Linked DNA regions of Homo sapiens: regions 1, 3, 4, 5 and 6 are each linked to region 2. Evidence: promoter capture Hi-C in 16 types of primary human blood cells and fetal thymus (Javierre and others, 2016). All regions are on one chromosome and are shown on one strand. Each heading gives the region's core, a stretch centred on a gene start or on the middle of the fragment in contact. The rest is flanking DNA. Distances are from core to core; before and after follow the strand shown.

Region 1 (2,884 bases), core at 91-2,590, 1.1 Mb before region 2:
TGGCACATAGGAGGCAGGCAATAAATATTGCTGAATAAAGAGATTAATATATATTTGAAGATCATTAGGCTTGGAATAAGTGGCCAAATAATAAGTATTATCCTAATTAGACATTCTTCAAAAACAATATAATGACTAAGCGTTTGTTTGTTTGTTTGCTTGTTTAAGAACAAAAAGTATCAGCCATTGTTCCTAGCAGCACTGAACTGCTTGTAGTTCCATACACACCATCCTTTTTCTCTTCTCCCAGTCTGCTGATGCCAGTCACTCTGTTGCAACATGGATTCTTTGTCCACTCACTTCAGTATCTTACTCCATTCACCTCCTTCAGGAAGCCTCTCAGAATTCCTGACTGGTTTGCCCCTTTCCTTCACTCTCAAAAACCTTGGTTTTCAGTCCAAGTTCTATTTCTATTACACTACATGATGTAGGGCAAATAATCTCACCCACTTTGGTCTCAGTTTCCTTATTTCTGAAAGGAATGGGGAGTACTGTATGATTGACTTTTAATTGTTTTTTAGCAGTCAAATTCTCTTATAAGTACAATTCTTTTATGAAGTCCAATATTTACATTGATTAAAATCTTATCAGAGATCAAATGTGTCTTTTCTTTAGTGAGCTGAAAAGCATCTTGAAATCTTAGAAGGGACGCTGCCCACATACTACAAGGCCCCAAAGACACCACCCTTGTGAACATTTCGCAGTCACTAGGAGGTGCTTCTTTTGGACCACCACAAAGATCTTTAGTCATGTTATCACATGTGTGTAGTCTCTTTAACACAAGAGGAGATAATCAGTTTCCTTGCTGTCTAAAACTCAAAACTAAAGTTTTGTTTTGGTGCTCAGGGATGCTCAGGGAAGGATATTGAGTTCATGAAGAAATAAGCAGGAAACTAGCTTTGAAAAAGCATTCCATGGACCAGCTGGGGCCTTGGAAGACAATGCAAACACTAGAAACTAGTCATGTCAGGCAATCCAAATTTCATAACCTTGGGCCAAATCTTAAAATTCTATTAAGTTGATCATTCAAAATGTCTACATTATCAGGTCAATTTGTTGTGATAATACTGAGTCACACCCTCTCAACATCCTGAGTGAATTAAAAAAACTAAATATAACACAGAGATACTTTTTTCTTTCTTTCTGGACCTCAATCCAAATAAAGAAAATATCACCTGCAGAAGATTCTAAAAAGTGAACAAGCAAATCAGGAAGATTATACTAGAAAAGCTATTTGTTGTTGTTTTTGACCAGTCTTTAGGGTAGTTTTATAACTCTCACAAAGCAGATATTGTTTTGGTACTATTTATATTTCAACCACTAATCAGGAAAATAATGCTAAATGTGCCAAGACTCAGGTCTTAGACGTACGTGTTCATTGAATTGATTTCTTTGCCAGAGCTAAAATTTAATAGGTTGCCAGGAGAGCCAAATCAATGGTGTATTATCTTTTAAAATCCCTTCTATCTCAACTTTTCACTTTTCATATAGAAATCCATGCTCTTCCTTACTGACTCTGTATACAAAAATTATTCTGGTCAGAATACTAAAAATTCCAATTTGCTAGCCTTTGTTATTTGAACCAGGCTGACACTTCTGCAATTTGGCTTGACTTGCATTTATTCTAGTGTATTATCCAGTATCAACATTACACAGAAAACTAATTTAAATAATAATGCTTGGTCAGAGATGGAGCAACAATATAGAATAAGATGATTTGGTTTAAACAGTCTCAGAAGGAATCTTATTGATATAGCATACAGCTTGTACCCAAATTCTGGGAGAAGGAAGTAAAATGTATCTTTATATCACATTTATTTTGGTATATCTTTATATCACATTTATTTTGGTATTATAAAGATACAATAAAATGTATCTTTATATCACATTTATTTTGGATAATTGTTAAAAAGTTCAGCTTACTATGATTTTTGGAAGATTTACAATTAATGTGCTTGCTAGGGAAAATACACAATTTGAGAAGTCATGAGAGGCTGAAGCCTGAGATGGTCTGATCTCCTGCTACATTGCTATTGGCTGAGGGCCAACTAAGTATCCAAATTATCTTTGCTTCAAAAAGGATGTTGATCAAAAGGTAGGGGTGCATTTCACAAGCATTTATTTCTATAAAGAATTATGAAAGGTTGAGAATGTTTGGTTATGCTTGTGTTAATTCATCTTCAGTTTCACCCTTTTGCATTCAAGTTTCTTTACAAACAACAACAACAACAACAACAAACCGAATCCAACAAAACCCAAAGGACTTGGCTATGCAATTAGTGTGCTGGTCCAAGTATGGTTCAAACATATTTTATGTAGCCCAATGTCTACATTTTTGTCTGGAATAAATAAAAGACTATTTTGATTATTGTTGTTTTATTTTAAATTTTAAGTACTTTAATTTTGATATTTGATTTTTAAGGTAGACATAACCATATTGATATTATATTCCAAGCAGTGCCATTTCCCACCCGTTAATGATAATTTGGCTCTTATATATGGCAAAAGAGAGAGGTGATTAATGAAGGTGATCAATGGAGGCTTCCAAACTAACAATTAATAATTCAGTGACAGAAAGGCTGCAACCACAAACTATTTGGAAAACAGACAAATTTTGAATTTCAGAAAATAATAATCTATTGGTGGTATGTTACAGTTTCTTTCAGAAAAAATGACCCTTTTGAATTATCTGAGGCAAAAAAGAAAGAAAATTATTTGATAAGTGAATTGTGTGCTGGGTAAAGCTTCTGTTCAACGATGTATCTTAAAACTTGAAATAGTAATTTCTCTCATTCTGTGATGTGTGTTATTTCAGCACACCAAACACCAAATGAAGTGTAATAGATTTTATAAAAATGCCAAGGCAGGTAATAATTTACATGTT
Region 2 (2,700 bases), core at 11-2,510:
CACAAGAGCTTTATAGGCCTGAGCTCTGATATAAGCACATTTCCTAACCTCAGGATCACCATCGTAAAGGAGACAGAAATCGAAGAGATCATCTATACAGCTGTGCTGCCCCTGAGTCCTCAGATGGGTTTCAGGATGTGTTATCATTTTGAAATTCTATGCAAAAGTTGGTGTATTTTGCACAAGCCCAGGGCTATTTTCTTAAGAAGGTTCATAACTTATCAAAATCTCAAAGGGGTTCTTGATTCGCAAAAGAAACACTGTCTCTAACTCCCTCAATGTCCAGAGGGAAAGAGAACCCTGTAAAAGTGATTGTTCAAGGTCTAAAGATGTGGGAACAGAGCAGGGACTCATAACAAGGCCCTGTGACTCTCAGTGTCATGTACTTCCCACCACCCCACACTTCTTGGTATTGGAAAAGAACTATTTCACCATAGCTACTATCACAGTCAAAGCAACCAGCGTTCCCACTTTTGTCTTTATAGGAGAAAATAAATGTACTTAACTGAAAAAAAAGTATACATTTATACGTATGCATGTATCTTGGGAACAAATATTATGCCACATTACCAACATATAGCTCAAACAACACTTATGTTTGGCAAAATATTGAATCCCATACACTGATTGTGAATTATTTTCCTCTTGAGCTTTCTATTTGTAATCAATCAAAGAGCCCCAATTAAGAATTTTACATATTATGATCCATTGGGTGGCCATAGCATTTACATGATTATTTCAGCCTGAAAAATGATTTAGTAGCAAGTATAAATGGGTTATAGGAAAATTCAAGTGATGAGGATTGAGAAGTTAGGGAAAACAAGTGTCTGGGTTTGGGATGGGGTGATGGGGAGGTGGGGTTAGCCAAGGAAAAGTCCCGAGAGCCTACCTTTCCACATTCCCCCAGCCTCTCCTTCTCCAAGAGTTTTTGGGACTCCTTTTCCCAATAGGCCATCAGTGCCTCTCTGCTGAATGTCCCTGTGGGGGTTTTCTCTGTCAGGCTCTTTTGCCTTAGCCCCACGGGAAGGTTGCGGTCAGGTTCAATGTCTTCCAACTCTCTCTCTAGCTCCTTCAGCTCCTCGGCTGACAGGGAGGCGAGGAGTTCATCCTCGTCGATGGATTCGTATTTACTGAGTCCTCTTCGGTAGCCAAAGGTAGACATGGTCCCTGCTTTGTCAGACCCAGAAGGAGCTTGAAGGACCAGGCATTCAAGGCGGCCAGAAGCAGGCAGGGAGGCAAGTGGCAGGCTGGTCAACAACTGGTGCTAGGAGTGGCTGTGGGAGCCTTTTAAGAGTGGTGATACAGGGCTGTGACAATGCAGAGAGGGGTGAAGGCATGGGCTGTTTTAAGCATCAGACGTCAGCTAGACATTTGAACACAAAGAATGTCACATCGGTGGTGGATGGAGGTCTCAGAACCAGTGGGGATTATTAACATACTGGCCAGGGCCATATTTAGCTGAGTCTGATAGCTCATGAGGACAGGCAGAGTGTTTCAGATAAGGAGTAACACAGTTCTTCTCACTTTGTATTCAAACAACAGGGAAATAAAATTTATTTTGAAAATGACTTGCCACCACCTCCATGGCCATGAAAAGATTCTTTCATTATAATCTTAGGGTTGAGAAATGTCTCCACAATACTCCATGGGTAGTTATTTTGGTTCTTCTATAAACATACTGTAGGTGGTATTGATGGGGACAAAAGGTCATAATAATATAGTATTTCATAATTTTATCCTACTTTGCAGTTTACAAAGCACTTCAATAAGTTTTTCTAATCATAAATACTGTGAGATGAATAACATGATTCTCATTTATAGATGTTGGCAACTGAGGCTCTCAGAGATTAAGTGAAACGTCAGAAGTTGGAGAGCTGAAAGTACAGAGAGGTGTCTTTCTCCACTGAACGAAATGCTTCTTCCTACTCACCATGATTACTAGTAAAAATCTAGACTTGCAAATGAAACTCGAAAAATACAAATAATAATACTGGATATGATTTATTAAGGACTGACATTATGCCATTCCAGTGTTAAGCATTATCTCCTTTAATTCTACAGTCCTGTAAGGTGTACATTAGTGCCTGTACTTAACTAGTACACACTCAGAGAGGTTAAGTTACTAGCATGGGAGCACAGAGCTAAGAAGTGAGAGAGCTAGAATCTGAGCCCAGATTTGTATCTGGCCTGAAAATGGAAGAGATGCTAATTTGAAATTATATATATGACTTAATCACTACATATTATATATATACAACAAATTTTCTTATGTACTCCATACATTTGCACAAATTAAAAAAAGAAATTATATATGAGCATATTGTTGTGTATATGTTAAAATAAATCCATAGTTTATAGGACTCCATAAATATAACACCATTTTATAGATATGTAAAATCTATTAAAAATATTAATGCATACAAAAATACATTTATCAATACATGTATAGTACATGATATTCTGATTATACCTTCAGCAGCTGGTGAATATTTGGGTTGTTTCTAGCTTTGGGTTTCTACCTTTTATCTATGAATAAAGTTTCTATGAACATTTACATGCAAGTGTTTGAGTAACCTCAGGTTTTCATTTATTTTGAGTAGATATGTAGGAGCAGAATTACTGGGTTATATGGTAAATTTACTTTTTAAGAAACTGTAAAAAACTGTTTTCCGAAACGGCTGTACCAATTTACATTCCCAT
Region 3 (2,700 bases), core at 171-2,670, 1.2 Mb before region 2:
CAATAACATGAATCTAGTATGTATTTTGAAGAGAGAATAATGTTAAATTTGGAAGGGACGTTTACTTACTTTTCAAGCCAAAATAAATGTTAATTTTTCTAGCTCAGTGGTAAGCTTAGGTACCTATTTCAGAGTTATTTATTTTGTTTTAATGGTTAAATCGCTTTTTTTGTTTTTGTTTTTGTAGATGCATATCCGTGGTTGGAATGCTTCATCAAGTCATACAATGTCACAAATGGAACAGATAATCAAATTTGCTATCAGATTTTTGACACCACAGTTGCAGAAGATGTAATCTAATATTGCCATCCAATTTAGCATACATAAAATGTTGCCACTCACCTTCCCTGTTTGAGCTTCTTTTCCTGACCTGAGTTTTGTATCAGCAATGTTGATGATGTTAGCATGGGTATGGGATTAGAAAATGTCCTTACCTTAAATCTCTTGGCTTTTACTGGGTGCAAGGTAAATAATGGCTATGGATTTTGTTTTGCTTTCTGTTTTGCTTTTGTACAAAGAGACCTGCTTAAACAAGTACTGCTGAGATAAGTGTCTGATCAAGCTACAGTGTACTTTAAGTAGAAATGGCAAAGTTGCTTTGTTGGGGTGCTGATACTGATGATTTTAGGATAAATTCATTTCTTTAAACTTGTAATACATGGTTTTATTGCTTGTTTCTCTCCAGGATAGTAGAGATTTCTCTATTTCACCTCAACCTAATAAAAGTGGTCAGATTTATAATGTTAATGACTTAATATTATCCTTTTCTAATAGTCTCATGTAAAATATGCCGCTATTACAACTTACAACTAATTGAATGAGATGTTAACTTAGTAAAATAGTTTGATTTTTACCTGACAGTGTTTGTCAAATTTAAAATCATGAATATTCAATTTTATACAAACATTTATATATATATATATAGATTTGTGTATGTTATTTGCCAAAGACAGATATAAATTACCTGGTTTAATATTAGTGAAGAATAAATAAGTGCACACATTTCAACTGTTTCATTTATTTGCCCTAAGTTGAGCTGAAAAATGATATGAGGCAAAGAATCGAAATAGGTGTGGCAATGCAGCAGATGTTTAGGGCTGTCTACATCCCAGGTACTGTGCTAAGCACTAAACATGTATTTGATCCTCACAGCAACCTATTTTTCCGATAAGAAATCTGAGGCTTGATTGATAAGCTGACTTGACTAAGTTCACACAGTTTGTAAAAGCTAGAGTCTGTGCCTTAATTCACATAATCTCTATTCAGAGCCTGTACTGTTAACCACTCAAGGATTCTGGAACAGAAGCTAACAGTTTTCTGCAACGAGTCTTTGACTTAAACATCTGAAATAACATTGGAAATAGATTATAAGAGGAGTCAGTGTGTTTTTCTATAGTTTCAAAATACTTTTAACATCTTATTGTCAAAAAGATTGGATAACTGACTTTCTTTGCTCATAATAACTCTAAATTCTAGTTCCTGAGTACATTAACACATCTTCTTTACCTAACTACCAATGTCCCCCATCATCGACTTATCAGCTTGTTTGAGACAATGAGAAAGACTGATTTTATTTTCAAGAATATAGACTCTTGGTTCAAAACATTTTCAGGAAAAATATTTTAAAACCCTACAGTTGAACAGGTGTGTTTCCGTGTTGATGATGTGCTCAGGATACAAAGGTGAAATAAACATTTTTTCTGCCTTCAGGAAGCCCTCAATCTAGAAGAGTAGAGGTCCAAAGGTGCCATATGTTCACACTGTGAGCCTGCAAGATCTCCACGTTAACAAAGGAAAACTCTTCCTATGAATCTTCATGATGATAGGCCATGTCTCTTCTTATTTTTGTTTTAAATAAACATCCACCTTATCATGATTTCTTTTGGTTTATTGTGGGGTTTTGTCCTTGTCTTTTTAAAAAAATTTTCAGTTTTTAGCAAGAATTATTCCATCAACATCTAGTGTTTCTCTAGAGATGATGTATGCACTTTATGCTAATCAGGAACCCAGAGAGGAGAATTTTATTTCTGGAGCAACAACTAAATGGTAGTTCATTGTGCCCCAATTTGATCCCTGCCCCTTTCTGTAAACACTGATAGAATCTTCCTGTCAGATTTTAAATTACACAAATTTAAGAAAGAAGTTTGTGTACAGACTCACCCTCAGTTTCCACTTTCTGCAGCTTCCATTTTTTAAGACACTACTGGATTGACTCATGCTGTCCCTGTATTGTTCTTAGAATGTATGTCTTAGAAAAATCTGAGACAGTCCATTATTCTTTATCTGGATGTAGCAATGAGAAACACACTACTTACAGGCTTTTTCTGTGGCCACCTTCAATTATACTGCTGTATTTGAGGGAACTATACATGCCAAGATACAATGTATCATTCCTCATTTCTTTTTACCCCTGCTCATGCTTTAAGTTGGAAATTGTTTCTAAATAATTATAGAAAGACTGATGTTGATGGTCTAGAAGAAGCTGACTATACCTCTGTCTACCTAAAAAAGTCTCTTCACCCATTTGGGTACTGGCTGCCCAGATTTCAAATTGGTGTAGATCCTGTGCCTTAGCTACTTGGAGGTAACAGAAAAGGACCAAAATCTTTTTCCTGCCTACTTCCCAGCTGACTATGCAGTCCTGTTTTAGATATCAAAGCATGAATTTGTCACTACGTGTGACTCTGAATCCAGACAATT
Region 4 (2,700 bases), core at 22-2,521, 1.2 Mb before region 2:
TATCTCAGCTTTGGATATATGCCTTCCTAAGCTTCATCATTTGTAACTTTTGATTTAAAGTGAGAGACATGTGACTCTCTCACTTGAACACTTATAGGCCATTATAGGGTTATCAAGTCATCTAATTTCAATATTGTTGTGTTTCAGAGAATAAGGAGCCTCAGGAGAGGGAGAGGGGAATGACAGGTTGATGGGGGAGTTAGAATACACATATTTATTGGTTAAGTACACTGTCTTATATGGGTGTGATTTGTGCTACCCCAAAACAATTATAATAGTAATGCCAAAGATCACTGATCACAGATCACCATAACAGATACAGTGAAAATGGGAAAGTCTGAAGTATTGTGAGGATTACCAAAATGTAACATAGACGCACATACTGTTGCAAAAATGGTGACAGTAGACTTGCTCAATGCAGAGTTGCCACAACCTTTAATTTATAAAATTGCAGTATTACAAAGTACAACAAAGTAAAGTACAATTACATGAGTTATGCCTTTATTAACATGGTCATACTACTCAGTCATCTCAGATTCAATGTATTCCCTATCAAAATCCAAGTAGCATTTTCTATAGAAAAATAAAAATCAATCTTCAAATTCATATGGAAACACAAAGGACCCTGAATAGCCAAAAGAATCCTGAGAAAGATCAAACCTGGAGGCTTCTCTCTTTCTAATTTCAAAATACGTTAAAAAGTAACAGTATTGCGACAGTATGGTACTGCCATGAAGCCAGACATACTGATTAATGGAATTGAATAGAGCGCCTAGAAATAAGCCCACACGTTTATTATGGTCAACTGATTTTCGACAAGGGTGCAAGAATATATAATGGGGAAAGTATAGTCTCTTCACCAAATGGGGCTGGGAAAACTGTATATCCACATGCAAAGAAATTGGATCCTTAGATCCTACACAAAAAAATCAATTCAATGTGGATTAAAGACTTAAGAGTATGACCTGAAACTGAATGTTCTGGAATAAAACAGGGGAAAGGTTTCCTGGCACTGGCCCTGGCCATGATTTTATATACATATATACATATATATGAACTGATACAGAGGTGTATATATATTTGGATAGTTTTAAAAGTAAAGTAAAAATGTATAACCTATTAATTGCTATATGATAATGTAAGGTTTTAACAAACATGTAAACGAAAACATCAAAAGCCATGAATTTCAGTTTATTGTGAGGTAATAAAGTGAACAGAAACACACACTTCACCTGTGTTTAATTTAATTTTACTAAATTTAACATTGTTTATTGTATTTCATCTATTCTAAAACACCATTATCTGTAAAAGGCTTTATCATTTTATGTATCATTCAGAAGGGAAAAATGCTAATTAAACTATGCTTAACTGTCAATTTTAAGATAGAGCCGTATTTCAGAGATGTTAAATAGTGAAACATGGATGTTGTTGATGAAATGTAGACTTTATCTCCTGCATGCCAGGAGTTGTGATCATGTTGCAAACACAAAGATGTTCTCATTGACTTCATATTACAAAACCATTTTTAAAATAAAGATATACAAATTTTATTGTTGAGGAATGAACTAGGAATCTACTCTTTGGTCAGGTGGATGTGGGAAAATCTTTTTCTTGTGGTCAGCATATTTTATTAACGTATAATGTAAAAAAAACTAGTCTGTGTGTAAATGAACATTGCGAAGACTATTAAATACGGAGATAAGTTTTAAATAAACCTCATACTAAGCCTGAAGACTGCAAAGAATGTTTTGTGGAAAATCCTTTTAATATCTGTTGTTGTAGAGGAAAGGGGAACATTAAAGTTGAAGTAGAGAAATTTGTGCTTGAAGACCTATTTTTCAAATATTCTCATTTCAGCTTATTCCCAGAGTCTTCATTTCCCCACCCCATCATACTGTTCAACATAAACTCACATACTTTTCCCTTAGTAGTTTCCTCTCCCCATCAATTTTCTTCAAATGTTACGTGTGCTGCCCCTTCTGGGAGTTAGCCATAAAGATGTAATCACTATGATCCTCTTCGAATTTGAAGTTTTACCTGGTTGAATTTAATTGGCCCACCAAACTTAGGAATAAGCTACATTGTTGCTAATAATGTATCTATAGAAGATATAATTTAAAAAGTTTTTTTAACAAGTTGATCTGCAAATACATCATTTTAAAAAAAACTTAAAATATGATAATATAGACTAAAATGATAGCTCTGTTAAAACATTGATGACAACATTAATTTTCAGTTGTTATTAGAAAAATCATGTTTTCTCATGATAATGTTATTAAATCTTGCATATAAAATGAAAGCCATGGGGAACAAGAATATGTATTATATTTTCATATGTGTCTTATATCTCTATCAGATATGTTTACTTCAATCACTGCAGTCCCGTAGTAAAAAATTCATGGCTAGTAATGAGCCATCTTTTATTACCAAGATAATATGTTTGTTTCTTCTAAGATACTAAATTAAAATGAATGTCATCAATTTTATCTGAACCTGGTCGTTGAAGCTTTTAAATAAATCTTAAGACATAGCAAGATGTCTTGACTACTAGCCAGACAATAAAGTTTTAAAACTCTCTCTAGTAACTTCAGTTACAGTTATATTAGAGAAATAGCACTGATATTTGTGTTCAGGAAAAGATAACCTTCATTAGTATTACCACAGAGAAGTACAAGAATAGATGTACAGGAACAGTCCACA
Region 5 (2,785 bases), core at 82-2,581, 1.1 Mb before region 2:
GAAAATTCAGTAAACCCAACATATCTCAGGCTATTGAAATATGGGGTGAGATAGAATGAGAAGGTTAAGAGAGAGGCTTGTGAGGAAAGCAGGTCCCAGATCATGAAAAATGTGTAAGCGATATTTAGGAATATGTAGTTTATTCCAGAAGCAACTAGACGTCATTAAAGTGCTTTCAAAGCGGGAATGGCATGGCCACATTTGCATTATAGAAAGATAATTCTCACTGCAGTGCAGAGAATGAGTTGGAAAGGGAGTTTGGAAGCACTAGGGTCAGGAAGGCCAAAGAGGATATTGCTGAGTAATCTATGTGAGAGGTAATGGTGACCTAAACTGGGGTGGTGATAATGGAAATAGAGAGAAGAGTAGAGATTCCTGGAATATTTAAGAGGTGTGATTGTAGGACCTGGAATACAAGAGAAGAATCATTGAGGTCTAAACTGAGTTATAAAGGATGTGAATATCAAAATAATTTTGTAGAAGTGGATTCAAAAGAACTGAGATCGCTGTGAAGTAAAAATTAATGTTTAATGGAAGTAACAGAATGCAAGAGCTGGAAGAGTAGCTGGAAGAGTAAGAATCTGTACTCAAATAGTGAACTTTCGGGTTAAGATTTCAGAGGTGGAGAAACAGCAGGTGATGATAAAGCCTAGGGTATGGTATTGAGTGTCTGTAACTAAAGTGGAGCGGAGGTGAAGACCATTAAGATCACTGGAGACAGAAAGCCAAGGAAACAGTAGATGTAGTGCTGCATGAGATTTCCACTTTTTTTTGAATTGTAAAATGAAGATTGAGGCAGAGATGAAAACTGCGAATCAGATCCTCAAGCTTTCAGTGAATGAGAATTACCAGGAGGTCAATTCATGAGAGAGTTAAGAAGGAATAGAAGGTTGTATAGACTAAATGACATCATACTAAAAGAACTTGTCTCTGTTACTCAGAAGAAACAGAAAAATTTCCTTCAGTGACATTCTTCTGACATCTTCCAGATGGAAGCTCATTAGTAGAGTAGTTGCTCTTATCCAAGTTACATCTTTGACATCTCTTTACCTGAGTTAACCTCTGCTGATTCATCACTTTATTATTCCTTTAAATTCCAGTTCTTCTGATGTCCTACCAGTGGTTTCTCCTATCCTAACATTAACAGCCCTTTGGAAATGTGTGCAAGTATGTGTGCCTGTGTGTGTGTGTGTGTGTGTTTTTATGTGCTGAGTGGAGGTAAAGGTCATTCTACCTGTACAGTTTTGTGTCTCATTTTTGCTTCATAGAAATGATGATCCTTTGGGTCCAAAAGAGAAACAAAAATGAGGCATGTGCTGAGAAGTCAGCTAAATATGCAATGGACATAGACAAGCACCAACGATTGAAAAGTAAAGTTAGAGGATCACAAAGAGCAGCGTTGGGAAGGAGAGATGTTGAGTCTCCACCCTGTTTTAGATAGACTGCTGTATTTGAGATTCTGGATTTTCAGGACTTCATTGGAGCCAGAATGAAATTATAGGTTTGCAGGAGTTAGTCTTCCTATTAACGAGTGCTATGGGGAAATGAAAGTGGGATGGAGAGGGAAACCAGGATTAACAGACCCAACAGTCATGAGGGCCTCTCATTCCAAAAATAAATGCCGTAAAACAGGAAATTCAGGGTCTTCTACCCGACTGCAGACAGTGACATCATTGAGAGCAAAAAATTATAGCTTATAATTTCTTTGCCCTTAGGGGCCCCTGCAATTTTATTATAATGGTTTTAGGTGTTAATTAATTGTTTTCAGCTTGGGATTCATTGAGCTTCCTGAATTTAAATACCGATGTCCCTTAACAGTTCTGGAAAAGCTTTAGCCACCATCTCTTCCAATGTCTCTGCTATTCTTTCTGGAACTTTGAATAGCTGCATATTTCTTTTACTCTGTCATTTACTTTTCCTACTTGTGCTTTCACATTCTGGATAATTTCTTTTCCCTGCAGATTCAATCATTCTCTTTTCAACTATACAAATCTGCTGTATAATCCTTTCTCTGGGTTTCTTCATTTTAAGGTTTATCTTTTCAATATCTTGAAGTTCTATTTTTAGAAAACTAAAGCCAGGACTAACTTAACTTAAAATTTCCCCTCAAACTTTCTTCAGACAAGAAAAATGGTGAAAATTTGAACTAAAGACTCGCGAGAAAGCTTGCTAATGGTTATAAATCCTCTAAGGAGGCACCAAGTTCTGGACAGACATATTTCTTTTTGATCCTTTTCTAAAGGAGAGGATTTACTTCTCATTCACCTTTGCTCCGATCGTTTAGTACTCTGGGGTCCAAGCTGTATTAAGGTTTTAGGCTTTATCTCCTTCCTCCTTCCACCCCAGTCCTGCCACGGGGTTGTCAGAAACCACTGAGAGCAAAGCTAATTTTGTCATTTACTGCTCAGTGTTTCTGCTTTCACTTCAGAGTTGGGCTCTCTGCTCCTTCATTTTGAGCCAAATCAGATAGGCATGTAAAAAGATTTTCTGTTGGTATAGCTGGCACTCTTGTTTCAGTAGGAGGACCACGCTGGGTATCCAACTTGAGAGACGTTAAAGTGAAGCAGGCAGAAATCCGCTTCTGAGAGAGGGCTTCCTGAGAGTGATGGTGAAAGTTACTGGAAGTAATGGGAGCAGAAAGGGTTTGTACCAAGGCTCCTGAAATCACGCAGGATGAAGCAGAAATCTACTCTTTGACAAACATGGAGGTATGATCAGAAACTAAGACAATGGAAATAAAGAAAAGGCTGGCTTGTGTCAAGGAAGCATGATGTGTGTCTCAGAG
Region 6 (2,927 bases), core at 278-2,777, 1.2 Mb before region 2:
GTGTGGGTTTTCTCCTTACCTCCTTTGCTTATATCCTCCATCAGAAATAAAGAGTAATGAGGGGAAATATAATTAAGAGAAGCTACAATAAGCAGAATTGGAAAGTTGATTTGCTACTCATCTTTTTTTTTTAAACGTTTCCTTTTATAGGATTGAGCCTCCATAATCTAAAAGTCCAGAATTCTCCTAAATGCAGATCTTTTTGAGTGCCAGTATGCGAGTGAACCCTTTGCTTTCCAATTATTCAGTGTACAAAAATTTTGTGTCATGCACAAAATTATTGAAAATATTATAGAAAATTACTTTCAGGTGATGTGTATAACATATATGTGAAACATAAATGAATTTCGTTTTTAGACTTGGGTCTCATCTCTAAGATAGCTCATTATATATATGCAGATATTCCAAAATCTGTAAATATCTGAAATCTGAAACACTTCTGTTTTCAAGTATTTCAGATAAAGAATATTTAACCTATATAGTTTTTTTGTTATGTAAGATGTCTGTTATTCAATCCTGAACTTGTAGGGGAAAAAAAGTGGTATCCCTATAGTCATCCAGTAGTCAGGAGTGCTATATTTATACAAATGAATTAAATTTCCTTGTTTGTAACTCCTTTTGCTTCTAAATCTTTCTTCATAAATATAAATGTGATTTAGGTTATATAGCTTCTTTTAGGTAGGTGTCAATATCTTTGAATAGCATTCTGCATCTCTCTCATTTGAAATCTCCATTAAAAGAAAAATCTCAGTGGTCTATAATTAAAGACATTTGTAGACTAAGTTTAGCAAAACATCTGAGATTAACTATAGAACATTTAATTCAAAACTCTAATTAGTTAACTCTTACGTTTGAACTCAAGGAGTGTTTCACACTGTGGTGGTACAGGCACAAATGCAGAAGTTTTCTTTCCATAGAACTTGTAAGATGGAAGATGTTTATTATTTTTCGGTAGTACCATATTTAAAATTTCTTCTTAGCATTCTTGTAATGACAGTATCTTCAGGATCATATTTAATTAATCCTTAAACTAGTTAAAGCAAGGCATTTTCAGAAACCTTAGTCAAATAGAGGGCTTGAATTCCGTTTAGGTAATGGGTTTCTTAACCATTATATTTTATTGATGCTAAGACACAATATTTTTTCACATTTTAATAGATCTGAAATGGAAATATCTCTTACAGTTGAATGTGTGTGTATATGTATGTGTGTGCACACACGCATATGCATGCACATGTCCATATATTTAGTTTTGATGTAGTGTCCATGCAGCTGATATTCAACCACACTCGTATAGCATACTTTGCAGATACTTTAGTATATTTCCTGACTGGTCAGTGCCCTCATTGGCCCCATATTGGTTATTAAAGTTTTAAATATCAGAAGTATTTTAATTTTTCCCCACTTTCTAAATAACAAATGATCTATTTTTTAGGTTGGAAGCTTTCTTAGAATCTATAGCCTTCATACCAAACTTCAATCAATGAATTCAGAGAATCAGACAATGTTAAGTTTAGAGTTTCATCTTCATGGAGGTACCAGTTACGGTCGGGGAATCAGGGTCTTGCCAGAAAGTAACTCTGATGTGGATCAACTGAAAAAGTAAGCTTTTAGTATTTAGAAAATGTAAATAAGGTATCGATTAAGCCGATTTCTAAGATAATATTGTTCCTGGGGCTTCTGATAGTTCCCTAGCCTTTTGTGCCATTTGCCATGTTTTTAAATAGATGAGCCAAATGAAACAAATCAAATGATTATAGGCTCATAGAGCTAAGTAGTAGCAGAGCCAGGGTTATAGTTGAAGTTTTCCAACAGTTTGAATCTGGCTTTTACACTCATGCTTCTCTTCTATCATTTACCACACTCTCCAAGTACAGCAACAAACAGGGGAAACTAGACCTTAGCTAAAGTTTGGAAAATTTGATACATATCTAAGATTCCAAAAATATTTAATTCTCTCATGAAAAAAATGTATTTCTGAAGTGCCACTGATTAAATAGATAACACATGTTTTGGTGTATCACTCTCTTTTAAACTTTTTAAAATTTTTACATGTGCCAGAAAGTAAATAGTATCTTAGACCTGCTATATATTTAGATCTGCTTTTCCCAAGGTATTCCTAGTGAGTATTGTGTGCAGAAGCATTTTGGTCAATATTCTAGAAATTTAAAAAATCTTCATATCTTCAAAGAGAAAACATACTGTTCATTAAATTTAAATAACTTTTGTCTACATTTTAATTCATTGGAATTAGTGTGACATTAAATTAGCTTCTGTTTTATTACTTTTATATCAATTTCACTGATTTTTAATATCATATTTAGCTTCTTGAATCTAGAGTTAGATTGTTCTGACTCAGAATGCTATCCATTAAATTCCCAGTTTATTTTTGTTTGTATTATTTCATCATTCTGCTGTTTCACTTGTATCTTTCTAAACTCAGATTTTTAATTTGAACCCCCGGAAAATCTGATGAAAGCAATAGATCCTTTACTGAAGAATGCATATACATACAAAATTTTATATACAATTTCAATGAATTTCTGGATTTTGTGGGTAGAGCTAAATTTACTATATTGACTTTGTTTTATGCAATTTGAAATTGTATTCTTTCAATTATAGGGATTTAGAATCTGCAAATTTGACAGCCAATCAGCATTCAGATGTTATCTGTCAATCAGAACCTGACGACAGCTTTCCAAGTAAGGATAATCTTTAACATTGACAGTTTAGTTCTTGCTAAATAAAATAGTTTTATCAACATAATTCTTTGTAATGTCTTCTCTTTGTCTCTCTTATTAATAATTTCATGTAGTAGAGGAACATACTAAAATCTTTATCTGTGGCCTATGCCAAAAAGTAAACATGGTTTCTTCCTAAATTATATAATTACGTTTTCAAATTGGGTGGTAGTGATTACTTGATTA

The links. The method cuts DNA at HindIII sites, captures the fragments that hold promoters and counts their contacts. A CHiCAGO score of 5 or more calls a contact.
Region 1: a contact is called between a fragment that was not itself captured here and the fragment with the promoter of LMOD2 in region 2, in 1 of 17 cell types (M0 macrophages). The highest score is 6.0, in M0 macrophages.
Region 3: a fragment that was not itself captured here is called in contact with the fragment with the promoter of LMOD2 in region 2 in 1 of 17 cell types (M2 macrophages); the score reaches 7.0 in M2 macrophages.
Region 4: a contact is called between a fragment that was not itself captured here and the fragment with the promoter of LMOD2 in region 2, in 1 of 17 cell types (total CD4 T cells). The highest score is 5.6, in total CD4 T cells.
Region 5: a fragment that was not itself captured here is called in contact with the fragment with the promoter of LMOD2 in region 2 in 2 of 17 cell types (M0 macrophages and M2 macrophages); the score reaches 5.6 in M0 macrophages.
Region 6: a fragment that was not itself captured here is called in contact with the fragment with the promoter of LMOD2 in region 2 in 9 of 17 cell types (total B cells, naive CD8 T cells, non-activated CD4 T cells and 6 more); the score reaches 8.7 in total B cells.

What each region holds. Positions count from the first base shown.
Region 1 is chr7:124,769,393-124,772,276 of GRCh38, reverse strand. No RefSeq gene overlaps it. Among named protein-coding and RNA genes, the nearest start is that of GPR37, 5.0 kb to the right of the region's middle. The HindIII fragment of the contact is 2,813 bases long and covers 1-2,746 here.
Region 2 is chr7:123,654,426-123,657,125 of GRCh38, reverse strand. LMOD2 (leiomodin 2) reads right to left here and starts at 1,260. Exons shown (of 3, transcript NM_207163.3): 1 at 890-1,260. The coding sequence starts at 1,162. The HindIII fragment of the contact is 9,966 bases long and covers 1-2,700 here.
Region 3 is chr7:124,821,562-124,824,261 of GRCh38, reverse strand. POT1 (protection of telomeres 1) reads left to right here. Exons shown (of 19, transcript NM_015450.3): 19 at 188-1,876. The coding sequence ends at 300. Among named protein-coding and RNA genes, the nearest start is that of LINC03043, 32 kb to the right of the region's middle. The HindIII fragment of the contact is 2,607 bases long and covers 117-2,700 here.
Region 4 is chr7:124,886,370-124,889,069 of GRCh38, reverse strand. All of the region lies in intron 6 of POT1 (protection of telomeres 1), which reads left to right. Among named protein-coding and RNA genes, the nearest start is that of POT1, 42 kb to the left of the region's middle. The HindIII fragment of the contact is 2,475 bases long and covers 34-2,508 here.
Region 5 is chr7:124,790,467-124,793,251 of GRCh38, reverse strand. LINC03043 (long intergenic non-protein coding RNA 3043) reads left to right here and starts at 2,442. Exons shown (of 4, transcript NR_167671.1): 1 at 2,442-2,708. The HindIII fragment of the contact is 1,001 bases long and covers 831-1,831 here.
Region 6 is chr7:124,851,647-124,854,573 of GRCh38, reverse strand. POT1 (protection of telomeres 1) reads left to right here. Exons shown (of 19, transcript NM_015450.3): 10 at 1,436-1,602; 11 at 2,623-2,702. Among named protein-coding and RNA genes, the nearest start is that of LINC03043, 62 kb to the right of the region's middle. The HindIII fragment of the contact is 164 bases long and covers 1,446-1,609 here.